Linked DNA regions of Homo sapiens: all the other regions are linked to region 3. Evidence: promoter capture Hi-C in 16 types of primary human blood cells and fetal thymus (Javierre and others, 2016). All regions are on one chromosome and are shown on one strand. Each heading gives the region's core, a stretch centred on a gene start or on the middle of the fragment in contact. The rest is flanking DNA. Distances are from core to core; before and after follow the strand shown.

Region 1 (3,428 bases), core at 103-2,602, 170 kb after region 3:
TCACACTGGCCTCCCCACCCTGACCCCCATTCTCGTCCCACCTTCTGGTTCCGGTCCTGGCCCTTCGCGTATCTCCCCTGCTCTGCAAACTAATGCCTCTGCCTCTCTCTGTCACCCACCGCCTGTGGCCTCTACCCCGCCCTTCCTGGCCCCAGGGAAGAGGAGGAGGAGGAGGAGACTGAGGAAGAGGAAGAGGAAGACGCTCACCAGTTCTGCTGTCCGGCCTCCGAGTGCAGTAGTCCCTCCTCTCGGTAACTGAGAGGACAAGGGCCATTTTCTATGCAGAAGCAAAAGCCTTAACCAGCCCCTCCTTCCCCCCACCCACCCCCCCGCAGATTCCCCCATGGGACCCTGTCCCCTGCTTCAGGAACCAGATGGGCAAGCATCGTGCCCCTTCCTCCCCCCACCTTCTTCTTGGAATTCCCATCCCCACTGCTGTCTCCTCTGGACTCCAGCCCCTGAATTAAAGAGAGCTGGAGCCCTAGGTCCGACTAAAATGTGGGAGAAGCAGAGCTTGGAGCTTGGAGCTTGGAACCTGGATCCTCCCGTACCCGCACTCCCACTTCCCAGGCACCCTGGAGCCTGCCACTACTGGAGAGGTCTCCAAATGACATCCCAAGGACCTACCTCTGTCCTCTGTGAGCACAAACAGAGATGCAGGGTGCCTAGGGCTCAGAGGACCAGACGGGGGCAGGACCCAGCCTGCCTAGTTCCCTGTCGTTTGTTCCCTTGCTGTGGCCATTGCTGCCATCTCCTCCACTGCTTGAAGGCCTCACCCCATGCCCTCTGCCACTCCCATAGTGCTCTGTAAATATTATCAGGAGGAAAAGGCCTCTCAGAGTGCGTGTTGCTGTGTACAAAGGAATTTCCATCAATAAAAGCTGATCTCTTCTCTCTGTCTGATGTATATTCCACCCACCCCCACTTCCCTCTTCCAATCCCCACCAGGGCCTTGCCTTCTTTCCTATCCAGGGCTGGGAATAGGGGCCGGGAAAGAGAGTAGGGTTTGATTCGTGGTTTTGTCAACACCCAGGAGGCACTCAATAAATGCATGAATGACTCCCAACACGGGCAGGCTAACCTTGGATGTGTCGCATGACCTCTTTGACATCTATAAAAAGGAGAAGGGTTGGATTAGAGGGTCTCCAATGACTCTTCCAGCTGTGACATTTTGTGAATCTGAGATGCTACAGTTTTAAGAAGCTATGATTATGTGAATTTAATAGACAATGATTCAGTGACACATTCCACTGCAATTTTATGATTTCTATTTCTACAATGCAGTGATTTTGGGATTTTCCAGTCCTGTGGTTTTAAGATTGCATAATTCTACCATTTGAACAAATTCTGATGATGCAATTTTAATATTCTGCAATGTTTAGATTCCTTGATCGTTTACTTTTAAGGTTCTGATTCTACAACTTTAGGGATCTCTGAATCTGAGAGGAAGCCATTTCCCTCCAATGCAACGACCCTAAATATTCCCTGCACCTGGGCAGAGGCTGGTTCTAAGACTCCCTGGAGGCTCTCAGCTGGAGGGTGGAAGATGTCCTTTACGGGTTTGTAGGACTCACACCTTCCATGATGTGTCTGAAGTGGGCTCATACCCCCGACTTTTCCTGTCTGAGCCTTTGGTATTAGACAAATCTGAGTTTACCTTCTGGTTCTGCCACTTACATCTGTATAACCTTGAGCAAGTTTTTTCTTCTCCTTGAGCTTTGTTTTCCTCCTGAGTACAGTGAGAATATACCTACCTCTCTGGGTTGTCATGAAGATTAGCAAGAAAGAACACAACGAGCCCAGCATAGGAGCTTGTGCACTGTTGGGCAAGTGTGCTGTGATTGGTGGCTCTTGTTTTGATTAAGGCCCAGGTGAGAGTTTTCTCCTGTCTTTTCTTTCCTCCCTCCCTTCAGCATCTCTATCACATTGAACCTCTAGGTTTCCTAGAACCTCACCTCCTTCCCTCACTTATTGCCTCACTCGCTCAACTCATCTACTCATTCACCCATTCAAAGTCTCATTTATTTCTCCCCTCCCTCCCTGCCTGTCTCCCTTATTTACTCTTCCTCATTCTACTCAACAAAGCATTGTTTGAGCCCTTACTGGGTATAAGACCTGACGCTAAATACTGTGAGAGATCCAAAGTAAGACAGAGGCCAGGTGTGGTGGCTCACACCTGTAATCCTAGCCCTTTGGGAGGCTGAGACAGGCAGATGGCTTGAGGCCAGGAGTTTCAGATCAGCCTGGGCAACATAGTGAGATCTCATCTCTACAAAAAGATTTTTTTTTTTTTTTAAGCATGACAGTGGCTGTGTCCTCTGCGAGCTCTCCATCTCCCAGGGGAGATGAGAGATGAGAAATCCTTTGGGAAAGTAGGAAGGATGCAAAGGGTTAACATGATTGGACAGGAACGGCTTCAGTAATGAGCACATTTTGTTCCTGGCCCAGAGAGGAAGGAGATGTCAAGGTGGGTGGGGAGGTGTGGTGTCCAGGAGGGCTTGCTGGAGGAAGAGGTGCAAGAGTTGAGCCTTGAAGGCTGGTAAGGGTTTGAAAAGGTGGCAAGGGGTGAGAAGGCATTATAGGAGACAGGGACCGCATAGACAAAAACCTGGGGGAGCGCTCCAGGGTCATGCAGGGGAATGGTGGGTACATTACTCTGTTTATTCTGCTCTCCAGGGTGTGTGAATGTAGGTGACCTGGGGCTGGGGACGAGGAGACCATTCTACCCTTCCGCTGAATGGAGAGAGAAGCAAGTGTGGGGGTGGGGACGGGGGTTCAACTACATGGGGGGAGGGGGCAAGTCAGGGTCAGATGACCCTCCCGACCCGTGGGCAACTGAATTGGCTGAATCGGGCAGAGGGCTTGTGCTGTGGGAAGGGGGTGGGGTTTTGATCAGCCGTGAGAGAAATATGTGTGCACGCATGGCCTCCATGTGGCCGGCCATCCTCACACATGTCTTTGCACAAGGCTCTGCAGGTCTCACAGTTGTGAGACTGTGCACACTGCTGCAGAGCTGAGGAAATGTGATGATGTGAGACTGGGTGTGAGGAATTCTGAGTGTGAGGTTGATTGTGTGAAGTGGTGACTTTATGTACCTGGCAGCCTTGATGTCTGTGTCTGGTGGATGTAATCACAAGGCTGGGTGTGGGTGGCTTTTAAGCACGTGAGGCTGTGGCCTTTAGGGTGACAGTTGTCAGGCAGGATGGTCACACACACACAGACACACGTGATTTCTACCTGTGGTCTTCGAGGACCCAGGGTGGCTGCTGAGTAACTGCTGTGTGCTTAGTACTGGCATGAGTGCCATAGGTCCGCAAAGGTGAATCACACCGGGCCGCTGCCCTTGGGAAACAGGACGGGGGTGTGGGGTGGGAGACGGACACTTTAAGAGAGAACCACAAGTTAGCCAGGAAGAAAGACTGACTGTG
Region 2 (3,523 bases), core at 753-3,252, 230 kb after region 3:
CCACTTTTGAAAGATGAATAGTTGAGGAAATCTCCCAAAAAGTAGAGTAAAAAGATGGAAAAGGGTAGAAAAAATTAGGGAATTTTTCTAGGAGGTTCAATATTCAAATAGGAGTTATGAAAAGAAAATAGATGAAAACTGAGAGGATGAAATCATTAATGAAATCACTCAAGAAAATTTCCCTGAACTGGAGAACCGATTTTCCAGAGTCAATGGGCCTACCCAGTACATGAGTGAAAAGAAATTCATACCAAGATATATCCTGTAAATTTCCATGTCAAACACTGAGACCAGAAGAATCCTATAAGCTCGAGAGAGAGAGAAACAGGTTTCAAATGCTTATCAAGCATTAGAAATCAGAATGGCTTCGAACTTTTCAACAGTAACACTAGAAGATCAGAGCAGTGTGCCTTTAAAATTATTTTCTGAGTCAACAACTATGGGAGTTTTTAAAAAAAGGATTTTTGCCGGGCGCGGTGGCTCACACTTGTAATCCCAGCACTTTGGGAGGCCGAGGCGGGCGGATCACGAGGTCAGGAGATCGAGACCACGGTGAAACCCCATCTCTACTAAAAATACAAAAAATTAGCCGGGCGTGGTGGCAGGCGTCTGTAGTCCCAGCTATTCGGAGAGGCTGAGGCAGGAGAATGGCGTGAACCCGGGAGGCGGACCTTGCAGTGAGCCGAGATCGTGCCACTGCACTCCAGCCTGGGCGGCAGAGCGAGACTCCGTCTCAAAAAAAAAAAAAAAGGATTTTCATCTTAGAATTCTATATACAGTCAAGTGTGAGAGTAAGAATAGAGACTTTCTTTAAAAAAAGAAAAGTAGGTTCTTCACACCATTTCTCAGGAAACTGTTGGAGGATGTTCTTAAGCATAGCAAAGGAATAAACCAAGAAAGAGGAAGACGTGGGATCTAGGAAATAGGAGATCTGTCACAAGAGAGTGATGATCCAGGGAGGACAGCTGGTCCAGATTGGGACAGATCAGAAGGTTGCATGAGACTGCTACAGAAAGATGAAAATTGATAGGAAAAGAGATTTAAATATTGGTCAGAAAATTAGGGATATATGCATAAAAAACTGAGCAAATTGAGAAACAGGAGGCTGTTTTTAACATAGTCTAGAAGCATGTTATTTAAGGTAGTTATAATCAACGCCAAAATAATCAGAAGAGGTGGAAGTGATTGGCTGTGGGGAAGGGAGAATGGCAAGGCTGGCTGATTTTATAACAGATCTTTATAGAGCCATTTGACTCTACAAACTGCATATATAACTGATGAAAGTAAATAACTAAAAAAGCTTGTCCAGCTTGATTAAAAGTGATATTTATAATTTTTGCAAAAATTACTAAGGAAGTTGGAATATTTTGACAGATATATTTTTTAATCTCAAATCTTCCTATCATCTCAACACACATCAAAACCTTGAGAGCAGAGACCAGTGGTCCTTCCTTTCAGAGTTGGAGAGTCTGGGATTCTGTTGTCAGACTGTGTTCCCTGAGGCTTTTCTTTGTCTCCTTAATTACCTTGCACTTAAGTCAGGTCTGTATACAGGAAAATCTCTATCTCAACAGCCATGGCCTTTTGTGTTCTTCAGGTTGTCCGCACAAACCAGTGTGCAGGAGAGTTTGTCATCACCTTCCCCCGTGCTTACCACAGCGGCTTCAACCAAGGCTACAACTTTGCCGAGGCTGTCAACTTTTGCACTGCTGACTGGGTGAGTCTAGAATGTGGTGGGATGGTGGGGAGAAGCAGGAGGGTTGTAGAGAAGCTGGGGCATCATGGCCTCCAGACTTGGCCACACTCAACCTTGAACCTGCCCACAGTTGCCTGCTGGGCGCCAGTGCATTGAGCACTACCGCCGGCTCCGGAGATACTGCGTCTTCTCCCATGAGGAGCTTATCTGCAAGATGGCTGCCTGCCCAGAGAAGCTAGACCTGAACCTGGCGGCAGCTGTGCATAAGGAGATGTTCATCATGGTGCAAGAAGAGCGGCGTCTACGAAAGGCCCTGCTGGAGAAGGTGGGGAGAGTACCCCAGATCAAGCACCCTATTCTGGTGGAAGTTCGGGGAGGCAGAGGCAGCACCAAGAAGATGTAGCCTCTACTCTTGGCGTATAGTGAAAAGAACTAGATGCATCTCGATTGAAAACCACATACCATTCTCTGCTATACCCTTTACCAGCAACCTTAAGTCGATTTACTTCATTGTCAGTTTTCCCCTCTGAAAAATGGGATTATGATAATGCTTATCTTTTTGGATAGTTGATTGTATTAAAGATAATGTTTGCTTAGTGACTGACCCATGGCAGGTACTGGTATAGCAGCTATTTATCATTATTTACATGACCTAGCAAAATAGACTGGCATATGAAACCTCACTGCTGATTATCTAGGTGACTGTATCAAGTTACTTGATCTTTCATATCTCACTTTCCTACTCTAAAGTGGGAATAAATACCTAACTTGCAAGATGTAAGGTTAGAGTAAGGTGATTTATATGAAAGCCATCTCTCTAACATTGCCTTTGCAATGTTGCAGCTGCTATTATTGGTAATGTTAATACATGAAGAAACTGATTGAAATTTGGAATGTTTCTCAGGAATTGCCATTTTATTACATGCAGATGGTTTATTAACTCCAGCTAGGGCAATAATATTACCAAGCTGAAGGTGGTCCTGCTTTAATTGATTTCTTGTAAGCTTGTGTCAGTTGTGTGTGTAGCTGAGTGGAAGCTGCTACAGAGCTCTAAAGTCCACTCGTGTAGTTTCAGCCATCATCTTCAAATTTCACACTTGCCCAGTTAGGGAATTGACTTTGTGAGAGTCTTTCATAAGATTACAAAGGAGTGCTGGTTCTGTGGGATCCCTTGCTGCCTATCTAGGGTAATACTTTCTTATTTTAAAGCTCATTTATAGCTTTCCTGTGAGTGTGGGCTATAGGGAGAACTATAGCTACAGTAGTGTTGGAAGTCTGGGGCCTCTCAGTCGTGGTGTAAGTTGTTGAGTCCCTGGGCTTTTCCAGGCATCATTTTCTCACTCTGTTCAGTACTGTTATTAAATGATGGCCGTGTGGCTGTGCCAAGCTGTGGGAAGGAGCCAAAGCAAGGTGGGGAGAATAGACCTTCTCATCTTGACATTCAGAATTCTTCACACTTGGCCCTTACCTCAGAGAAGCATTCTGGACACCATAGTCTTGGAATCCTGTAAGAGATTGTATGTGTATTTAAGTATGTTTCTGGGAAGAGGACTTATAGTTTACATCCAATTCTCAGGAGTCTGTAGTCCAAAAAAACCCTAGAGACTTCATCCTTAGAATATTCTCTGGCTTTAGAGTCAAAATTAACTCAGTTTGGCAAGTTACTGACCCTGAGACTTAGTTTCTGCCTTAGTAAAATGAGATAGGCCTGTGGAATATATATTCTTATCTGAAAATTAGAGCTAATAACAGTAAATATTTGATGAACACTGAATCTAAGTGCTGAGATACTTGTCTGATTCCATAGCTGCTTTATTTTTGTTAATC
Region 3 (3,293 bases), core at 385-2,884:
TTCACACTTGGTGTGAATTTTCATACCTTTCACTTCAGAAATATTAATATTTCATTACGATGCTCCAGGCTTTTCTCAATAGTTATATAATATAGACTATACAAAAAGTTATGTTTGACTAGTTTTTTTAAAGAGTTATGTAATATAAATTACATGTCTTCCTTTCTCAAATTGAAAAAAACTCTGAATTCCACAGCACATCTGGCCCTAAGGTTGGAAAATGGATTACGGACATGCAAGTGCTATGAAGATAATTCAAATATGCAATGGGATAGTGTCTAGGTGGCTACAGTTTGAATATTTAGGGAGGACCCCTCTGGGAAGGTGATATTTAAGCTTAGTTCTGAATGAAAAAAAATAAAAGCAGTCATGCAAAGATCAGGGGAGAGCATTCCAAGCAGAGGGAGCAGCTAATGCAAAGATGAACACAAAGGAGGCCACTGTGGCTACAGCATATTGGGCCGGATGAAGAGTGCTATAAATTGATGGAAGCACTTCATGTAGATAGGAAAATTGTGAGACCGGTGTGCTAAATCCTTTGGTAAATACGGTGTAGTGATTATGAGTGTGGTGGCTGTCAACAACTAGAAGGCCTGGAGGGGAATCTTCCTGGGTGAGAAAGCAAGTGGGGGGAGATATTTCAGATAGAGAAAACATAAAGCAGTTCTGAGGCTGAAATGGTGGGCTAAGATTTATGGCCTGAAGACCTTGGTTTGAGGAAAAGTATAGAAGGAAGACAGATTAGATATCTGGGCTCAAGACTCTAATGACATAGCTTCTGGAAGCTGCCTGAAAGATGTTCTAGGATGACAAAGACCTGGGTCTTAAATAATAGTCTCTGGTTGAAGTCCAATCTGCAGTGTGTGATCTGGGCTTTTGGACTTAAATTAGACAAAGATAGAGGAGAGTAGCAAAGCCTGAACTGATGAAAGATGTTTTTGCCTCTTTAGGTTTGTGCTTCTCAGCAGCTGTCCTAGAATGTCTGTCTCCAAGCATCTCTCTTAGCGGCTTTCCACATTCATCTCTCTGTGATCCTACCTGGCATCTCTCTTCCTATCTCGGCCTCAACATATTTCTCTTTACATGGCTCTCTCTCTCTCTAACTCAGACTCCTCATCTTTGGATCTCCTTGTCTGAGTGTCCCAGAATCTGGTTCCGTCCATTCGTCTGTGTCTGTACTGTAATTCTCTTTCTCCACCTGGACTGTGCCCTCCTGGAAGGCATGAATCTTTTATTATTCCGCTGGGTATCCCAGGTGCCCCGCACACCGTCTAGCATATAGGAGTCTCAAATACATTCATACTTGAATTAAGACTTTTTCAGAGGAGAAAGGCATCCGTTCTCAATATCCACCCCTCTTCCCCCACGCGGAGCAGGCCACTTGCCAAAAGGCCAGCTAGAGAGTAGGGCGAGGGGTGTTGTGGTATTGTACTTCTGCTATTGGTCTCTTTCCCCAGTTGAAATAACTCTGGGGATACCTTAGCAGGCGGAATCCGCCCTCTGGCCAAAGGACTAGCGTACCAGGCCACGCCCCCACGTCTCATGCGGCAGCGGCAGACGCCCCGGCCCGTCGCATCCGCCCCTTCCGCCGCTTCGCCTCGGCCAATCAACGAGCGCCCGCGCCCCCATCCCCATCCCGTGGAGTGGCCGGCGACAAGATGGCAGCAGCGTGTCGGAGCGTGAAGGTAGAAGGTTCTTTGCCTCTGTTGCTTGCCTTCCTTTACGGGCCGGGACAGCGCGGCCGTGGAACTAGGAGAAAGAGATCGGTTTCGAGGGAAAGGGTCATGCTTATGTAGGCCTGGTATTGTGGCCGTTGGGCTCAAGAGGTGAAAGTCAGCACTCCGCGGCGCATCTGTCTGTCTGTCTGTCTGTCTATCTATCTATCTATCAATCATCTATCTATCTATCGTCACGGGACGGGCTGTCTGGGGATGAGATCCCTTCTGCCCCCGAGGTCCCAACGCTGAGGAGAAGCAGCACACCTAGTTTACCCGCAGGGGTGACCACGACCTCTCCCCTCCCCCCTTCTCCTCAGAAGCCTGGAGAACAGGCAGGCGACAGCGTGGGGATGGTCTGGGCAATGTAACAGCTGACCCTGACCATGTCCCTTTTGACAGGGCCTGGTGGCGGTAATAACCGGAGGAGCCTCGGGCCTGGGCCTGGCCACGGCGGAGCGACTTGTGGGGCAGGGAGCCTCTGCTGTGCTTCTGGACCTGCCCAACTCGGGTGGGGAGGCCCAAGCCAAGAAGTTAGGAAACAACTGCGTTTTCGCCCCAGCCGACGTAAGTGGGGTCACCTCTCCTCTCCCAGGGTGTGCATGAGGTCACCAACACCGGCCTGGGAACCTGTGGGGGTCCCTCCCATAAGGGTCTCCTCTATGGGGGCGGTAGACCCATCTCCTTGTCTCTTTTGGCCTGAGCCTTCAAGCACTGTGGGACCACCTGTGATAAGGATTCTCTAAAGCTGGGATTCACAACAATGAGGATGGGGATTGGACGTAACAATCTCCTGGAGGAGTTATGTATGGTTTGAAAATGCATTTTGTGCCTTGTAATTTTATATTTACAAAGTCAAAAAACTTGTTTTCATGAAACAAACTACAGAAAGTGAAACTTGATGAAATCATCTTAGCAGGTAAGGATACAAAAAAGCTAGTTTATCTTCCTATCAATAATTCTCACAAGAGGGTTATTTTTTATTTTTATTTTTGAGATGGAGTCTCGCTCTGTTGCCCAGGCTGGAGTGCAGTGGCACAATCTCAGCTCCTTGCAACCTCCATCTTCTGGGTTCAAGCGATTTTCCTGCCTCAACCTCCCAAGTAGCTGGGATTACAGGCACCTGCCACCACGCCCAGCTAATTTTTTTTTTTGTATTTTTAGAAGAGATGGGGTTTCACCATGTTGGCCGGGCTGGTCTTGAACTCCTGATCTCACGTGATCCGCCCGCCTCGGCCTCCCAAAGTGCTGGGATTACAGGTGTGAGCCACTGCACCCAGCCTCACAACAGGGTTGCATTAGTGCTCTGATCCACAGCAATTAAGAATCTTCAGGAGCATGTGAATTTATCAAGAAGGTATTGATTTGAAAAATGTTTTTGCAACACTGCTCTATATTACCTAATATTTTCACCTTTGACCTACTCTCTCAATTTTTTTTTTTGGGACAGAGTCTCACTGTTGCCCAGGCTGCAGTGCAATGGCACGATCTCAGCTCACTGCAACCTCTGCCTCCCGGGTTCAAGCGATTCTTCTGCCTCAGCCTTCCAAGTAGCTGGGATTACAGGCATGTGTCACT
Region 4 (3,343 bases), core at 791-3,290, 130 kb after region 3:
CCCCTAGTGCTTTTCTCCTTCCTCGCTGTCACAAGTAGGTCTTCACGCCACTTGTGGTTTAGGGAAGTGCTTGCATGCTCCTTTGGGTAAGGCTACAGCTCCACTCATTCCTCAAGTCACTCTGTTTCCTTCCTAACCCTACACTCAAGTTGTACTGAACTATGTAGAGTTTGCTAAGCATGTCAGGCTTCTTTATGCTTCCATGACTTTATTCTGGCTGTTCCTATGGCTAAATGCCCTTTTTTTTTTTTTTTGACAGAGTCTCACTGTGTCTCCCAGGCTGGAGTGCAATGGTGTGATCACGGCTCACTGCAGCCTCTACCTCCTGGGCTCAAGTGATCCTCCCACTCCAGCCTCCCAAGTAGCTGGGACCACAGGCATAGGCCACCACACCTGGCTAATTTTTTGGTTGTTTGTAGGGACAGGGTCTCCCTGTGTTGTCCAGGCTTGTCTCAAACTCTTGGGCTGAGGCAGTCTTCCCATCTCAGCCTCCTGAGTAGCTGGGACTATAGGCACACACCATCATGCCCACCTAATTTTTGTATTTTTGTAGAGACAGAGTTTTGCTATGTTGCCCAGGCTGGTCTCGACCTGGGCTCAAGCAATCCTCTCACTTTAACCTCCCGAGTAGCTGGGACTATAGGCACACACTAAAATGCCTGGCTAATTTTTATTTCATTGTAGAGACGGGATCTCCCTGTGATCCCCAGGCTGGTCTCAAACTCCTGGGCTCAAGCGGTCCTCCCGCCTTGGCTTCCTAAAGTGCTGGGATTATAGGCATGAGCCGCCGTGCCTGGCCCCAAATGCCTTTTTACCCTTGTCTACATGGCAGATAACCAGTTAACTTTTTTTTTTGACATAGGGTTGTGCTCTGTTGCCCAGGCTAGAGTGCAGTGGCATGATCATAGCTCGCTGAAGCCTCAAATTCCTGGGCTCAAGTGATCCTCCTGCCTCAGCCTCCCTAGTAGCTGAGGGAGGCCTAGAAACTTATTTCTCTCTGGTGCCACCACGCCTGGCTAACTATTCAAATTTGAAGAACATCTAAGTACCTCACACTGTTCAAGGCACTTGGAAACAGTGAGCAAAATAGACAAAACCTCTGCCCTGTGGAGCTGAGATTCTAGTGTATGGATGTCTGGGATGGGTGTGGAAAAGAAACAAATAAACAAGAAGACACATAATATGTCAAGTAGTGGTAAGTGCTATGGGGAAAATAAAGCTGCATGAGCCTGGGGATTGCAGAAGGCCCAGTCAGCTCCACCACAGCCAGTGTTTGCACAACCATTATTAAGCAGCATTTTCTCATTTAAGCATTTTCCAATGTTATCACATATTCTTTATAACCATAATCCTCCCAACAACCGTATCATATTAGTGCTATTATTATCTCCATTACATTGATGAAGAAACTGAAACTTAGGGTCATAAATCGCATAGCTGGAAGAGGCAGAGCTGAGACCCAAATCCAGGCCTGTCTGACCTAAAGCCTGGACTCATAACTACTGTCATTCTACAAACCTCAACACAATTCTCTGAAGTCAGAATTATTATGCCTATTTTATAGTTGGGGAAACTAAGTTCAGAGAGGAGAATGGATTCATCCATGGGTTGCACAGCAAATGAATGGATTTGAACCCAGATCTGTGAAGGCTAGGGCCTTCTACAAACCCTGAGGCCTAAGGCTCTATAGACTTGCCTGCCTCTACATTTCTAGGGCCCAAGCAAGTTACCAGTTGAAGCCCTTGGCCCTCCACACTTCTCTTCCCTCCCATAGTTCATATGGAGCCTTGAGATATGTGGATACCCCAGCCAACACCTCCAAGCCCTGTCTATCTCCCCTTCCCCTTAGGCCGCTCCTTGGTCCTAACAGATGGACCTGGGTAATAAGACCATGCAATTCCTGAAAGTAAGCCCAAGAAATTTAGGCAGGAAATTCTGAGGTCCTTGGTGCTTGAAGTGCAGCCTAGAAGGGACAGGGCCAAAGATCCTTATGGGTCCTGATGGCATTACAGACCTTTTGCCTGATGGAGAGTGGCCCCTAAAATGTGGGCCCCAGTGTAGGGCCTTCTGTTTATCAGTACAACCCATAAGATTGTGATTCGTAATAGGCTGGCCTCCAAGATCCTCCTCCTTTGGCTTCCTGAGCTAGGTCCTGCTTTGCAGGGAAGGGAGCAGGGGGTGTTCTGTGGGCCTGGGCCTTCAGAGGCTGTGGCCGGTGAAGAATAGAGCTTTCCCAGCAAGCCCTGGTGGACATGTGCACTGATTCTTATGCCCCCCGCCTCACAGTATTTTGTTCCCAGTACTCTCAGGCTACTTAACCAATTTAATTTCTTAGTAGCGTTTAAAAAATTATACTTTCAATGCATTTTTAAATTAGGAAATTTAGAAAAACTAGGAAAAGTAGAGGAGAAAAACATTACACATAATTACAGCACCCAGAGGCAGCCACTCTGAGCATCTGGTGTATTTGCCCTTGTTCTCTGCATTTTTTTCATGTAGTTGAAATGATTTTACACATACAATTTTTGTTCTTGATTTTTCCATTTGAGCATTTCCCATGTCATTGCATATTCTTCATAACCATCATTTTTAGTGGCAACTGATATACCACGATGGACTTAACCATCCTCTTAATGTAGGGTGTAGAAGCTGTGCTCATTTTTTTCACTGGTTTAAATCATGCTGCGATAGGCTTCCTTGCACACACAGCATCAAAGGAACTTACAGCTTTTAGGGAATTGACCTTATATAGGGACAATTGTATTCAGCTTATTTCCCTTTCTAGATGGTCCCTCTAGCTGGGTCCAATTCGTTTATTTAGTCATTCATTTATTCATTAATTTCGTCACCACATATTTACTCCATACGCCTGGAAGCCAGACTCTGAGATCTGGGGGTCCAAGCAGGAATGAGACAGAGCGCCTGACTACCAGGAGCTCCCAGTCGCTGGGAGAGTCAGCCATGGAAATAGACAATTTCAGAACAGTTTGATCAGGGCTGTGATGGAGTCAAGAAAAGGATACTGTGGGAGAACAGAGGAGGGGCTCCTAACCCAGCCTAGGGATGTTAAGATACGCTTCCTGGAGGAGGTGGTGCCTAAATGGGTCATGGAGGATGAATAGGAGTTGGCTGGAATAAGAAAGGGAGCTTCCTGTTAAACACAATGAGTTGGATAAACTTATTTCTCTCTGTTGCTTTCCCAAATCTCATTAAAATATGAAAAAAGGAGTAAAAAAGGTAGAAACACATAAGGTCTGGGATGCTGACCAGAAGTAAACTATTCTACTTAGAGAATCCCAGCAGTGCTCAGGATTGAGAGGTACTGAAGGTACATCCTCAGAAG
Region 5 (3,421 bases), core at 688-3,187, 190 kb after region 3:
AATTACTTGAACCTGGGAGGTAGAGGTTGCAGTGAGCTAAGATCGCACCACTGCACTCCAGCCTGAGTGACAGAGCAAGACTCTGTCTTGAAAAAAAAAAAAAAAAAAAAAGAACAATTGAGATGAGGTCATTGATGGGTTGGGAAGGTCCCAATATATGAGGTTCCAATATATGGAACCAATATATGAGGGCCTTGAATGCCAGATGAAAGGTGTCACCTTGCTCTTTTTGCTTATTCTACTGATGTCGAGCCCTGCCTATCACCAAAGAGCAGCTACTAAAAATGGTACAGATGTTAAGATTATTTAAGCAGAAAAGAAAGAGGGAAATAGAGTCAAAGAAAAAAAGCAAACTGAACACAAGACAAATTGGCTGCCCATCAGGTTTGTGCCGCTGTGGCTGCTCTGGTAAGAAAGTCAGTGCGATGTAGTATGTTCCTTTAGCACCTGTCCAAGGAGGAGATGTGACATTTCCAAGGAAGAAAACATTTTTTTTGTTTTCTGTTTTTTTATTTTATTTGTTTTTTTTTTTTTTATTTTTAGAGACAGGGTCTCACTCTCTCACCCAGGCTGGATTGCAGTGGTGCTAGCAGAGCTCACTGCAGCCTTGAACTCCTGGGCTCAAGCGATCCTCCCACCTCAGCCTCCTAAGTAGCTGGGACTATAGGCGCGTGCCACCATGCCCAACTAATTTCTAAATTTTTTGTAGAGACAGGGTCTTGCTAGGTTGCCCAGGCTGGTCTCAAACTCCTTGCCTCAACTCGGCCTCCCAAAGTGCTGGGATTACAGGTGTGAGCCTCCACGTCCTGCCCAGAAAACATTTTCTCTAGTAGAGGATTTAGAGAGAAGAGTGAGTGGGTTTCACTCAGCAATCAGAAGTGGAGAAGGATGGTGAACATGGGAGGAGGGAGTTAGATCAGAGGCCATTTGGAGCTGTCTCCTAGAATTTTGCCATCATTCATTCATCCATTCTTTTTCCCTCTCTCTCTCAATATATGTGTGTGTGTGTGTGGGTGTGTGTGTGTGTATGTGTAACTTCCCCCTCTAATTATTAAATAAATAAGCAAATAAATGAAGGTAATACATACTTTATTTCAGAAATGTTGGAAGATTCAGAAAATTAGAAAATTTCTTTTTATCACCCAAAATGTGCCCCCTAGAGGCAATCATAGTTAATGTTTTGGTGCGTTCTAATCTTTTCCCCCATGCATATGTAACTTTTTATATAGTTCAGATCATACCACACATGCAATTTATCTTACTCTTTTCCCATAATTTGCTACTGTAATTTTCTCATGCTATTGAAATGTTTTTGTAAATGTCAAGTTTTTAATAGCTGTGCATTATCTTATTAAATGGATATACTATCCTCTATTGTTAAAATTTAGGTTGTTTCAAATTGTCCCCATAAGTAACACTTAGTGAGTTTTTTTTTTTTTTTTTTGAGACAGGGTCTTGCTCTGTTGCCTAGGCTGGAGTGCAGTGGTGCAATCATGGTTCACTGCAACCTCCTCCTCCCAGGCTCAAGCTATTATCCCACTTCAGCCTCCCAAGTAGCTGGGGCCACAGGTGTGTGCCACCACACCCAGCTAATTTTTGTATTTTTTGTAGAGATGGGATTTTGCCATGTTGCCCAGGTTGGCTCTCGAATTCCTGGGCTCGAGCGATCCACCTGCCTCAGCCTCCCAAAGTGCTGGGATTATACCACGCCTGCCCTAGCATTCTTTTTTTTCTTTTTCTTTTTTTTTTTTTTGAGACAGAGTCTCAATCTTGTTGCTCAGGCTGGAGTGCAGTGGCGCGATCTTGGCTCACTACAGCCTCTGCCTCCCGGGTTCAAGCAATTCTGCCTCAGCCTCCCGAGTACCTGGGACTACAGGCACATGGTGCCATGCCTGGCTAATTTTTTGTATTTTTAGTACAGATGAGGTTTCACCATGTTGGCCAGGATGGTCTTGATCTCCTGACCTCGTGATCCACCTGCCTCGGCCTCCCAAAGTGCTGGGAGTACAGGCGTGAGCCACCATGCCCCGCCTGCACTAGCATTCTTGCACATACCTCTTGCACATATTTCTGAGTAGTTCCTTAGGGTAGATTCCTAGAAGAGAATCACTGGGTACAAACATTTAGGTTCTTGCCAAATTACCTTCCAAAAGAGTTATGTTACCATACATGCCCACTTCCCTGCACTCTTCCTAGCACTGGATTTCATTTTAAATTATTTTTGCTAATTAGGAAGGCAAACAATAGTATCTGATTGTTTTAATTACAGTGTATTCTGAGTTGTTGAGAAAAAATTCCCCACTCTGGGGAAGATAGCAACTGGCTGTTGTACTGAAGGACACCCTCCCTGCCCCAATCCTGGCTAAGGGGCCGAGGGTACCCATTGACCCTCAGTCCTGACTATCGTGGCCCGTGCCTGGGTGTGGGGGTGGTGGAGCACCCCTACCACCCAGTGCCCATAATTATGTGACATATCCCTGTGTTACTCCCTCCCCCAGGGGTTGACAATGGTGAAGACATCCCCCGAGACCTCCTGGTGGGCATCTACCAGCGCATCCAGGGGCGTGAACTGCGGACCAACGATGACCATGTGTCCCAGGTGCAGGCTGTGGAGCGCATGATTGTTGGAAAGAAACCAGTAAGTGCCTTGGGAGGCTGCAGAGGGGCCAGGGTTCAGGTCTGCCTCTGCCACTAAGTGGTAAGTCACTGCACCTCCCTGAGCCCCAGGTGCCCTTTACCTGCAATACAGAGTGGGTGATAATGCATTCCTCAGAAGGCTGTGGTGCAGAGTGAATGCATCGAGCACATTCCAAGGCCCATAGTGGGTACTATATAAATATTAGCATCCTTTTCACCTCCGGCTTTGCCTGTCCATCCTAAGTGAAGAGCCAAGCTAATGGTTAGCAGAAAACCAAAGTAAGAACACACTTTAGGCCAGGTACAATGGCTTGTGCCTGTAATCCCAGCACTTTGGGAGGCCGAGGTGGGTGGATCACCTCAGGTCAGGAGTTCCAGACCAGCCTGGCTATCATGGCAAAACCCTGTCTCTACTAAAAATACAAAAATTAGCTGCGGGCGTGATGGTGCATGCCTGGAGTTCCAGCTACTCAGGAGGCTGAGGCAGGAGAATTGCTTGAACCCGGGAGGCGGAGGTTGCAGTGAGCTGAGATCGTGCCAACGCACTCCAGCCTGGGGCCACAGAGCAAGACTCCGTCTCAAAAAAAGAAAAAAAAAAAGAAAACGCTTTAGCCAACAAACATTTGTGGATGCCTTTCCACTGAGCCCAGCATTTGCTGGGCACCAGAGTTGGTGCTGGGCATTCATAGATATGAATCAGACGTGTTCTCTATCCTTGGGGGCACTCACAGACCAGTCGGGGTGTGAAACAAAGACACATATAATACTTCTGCTTTATGGTCCA

Evidence for each region. The method cuts DNA at HindIII sites, captures the fragments that hold promoters and counts their contacts. A CHiCAGO score of 5 or more calls a contact.
Region 1: a contact is called between a fragment that was not itself captured here and the fragment with the promoter of HSD17B10 in region 3, in 5 of 17 cell types (monocytes, M2 macrophages, M1 macrophages and 2 more). The highest score is 6.9, in monocytes.
Region 2: a fragment that was not itself captured here is called in contact with the fragment with the promoter of HSD17B10 in region 3 in 3 of 17 cell types (monocytes, M0 macrophages and erythroblasts); the score reaches 5.8 in monocytes.
Region 4: a contact is called between a fragment that was not itself captured here and the fragment with the promoter of HSD17B10 in region 3, in 10 of 17 cell types (megakaryocytes, M2 macrophages, total CD8 T cells and 7 more). The highest score is 7.3, in megakaryocytes.
Region 5: a fragment that was not itself captured here is called in contact with the fragment with the promoter of HSD17B10 in region 3 in 3 of 17 cell types (M0 macrophages, megakaryocytes and M2 macrophages); the score reaches 6.2 in M0 macrophages.

What each region holds. Positions count from the first base shown.
Region 1 is chrX:53,263,792-53,267,219 of GRCh38, reverse strand. All of the region lies in intron 2 of IQSEC2 (IQ motif and Sec7 domain ArfGEF 2), which reads left to right. Among named protein-coding and RNA genes, the nearest start is that of KDM5C, 40 kb to the right of the region's middle. The HindIII fragment of the contact is 7,501 bases long and covers 1-3,428 here.
Region 2 is chrX:53,200,048-53,203,570 of GRCh38, reverse strand. KDM5C (lysine demethylase 5C) reads left to right here. Exons shown (of 26, transcript NM_004187.5): 13 at 1,598-1,717; 14 at 1,827-2,021. Among named protein-coding and RNA genes, the nearest start is that of MIR6894, 2.9 kb to the right of the region's middle. The HindIII fragment of the contact is 1,400 bases long and covers 1,303-2,702 here.
Region 3 is chrX:53,432,711-53,436,003 of GRCh38, reverse strand. It overlaps HSD17B10 (hydroxysteroid 17-beta dehydrogenase 10), which reads left to right and starts at 1,634. Exons shown (of 6, transcript NM_004493.3): 1 at 1,634-1,685; 2 at 2,118-2,282. The coding sequence starts at 1,659. The HindIII fragment of the contact is 11,572 bases long and covers 339-3,293 here.
Region 4 is chrX:53,300,112-53,303,454 of GRCh38, reverse strand. The region is part of intron 1 of IQSEC2 (IQ motif and Sec7 domain ArfGEF 2); the gene reads left to right. Among named protein-coding and RNA genes, the nearest start is that of IQSEC2, 20 kb to the left of the region's middle. The HindIII fragment of the contact is 5,804 bases long and covers 1-3,343 here.
Region 5 is chrX:53,242,549-53,245,969 of GRCh38, reverse strand. IQSEC2 (IQ motif and Sec7 domain ArfGEF 2) reads left to right here. Exons shown (of 15, transcript NM_001111125.3): 9 at 2,499-2,638. Among named protein-coding and RNA genes, the nearest start is that of KDM5C, 19 kb to the right of the region's middle. The HindIII fragment of the contact is 9,178 bases long and covers 1-3,421 here.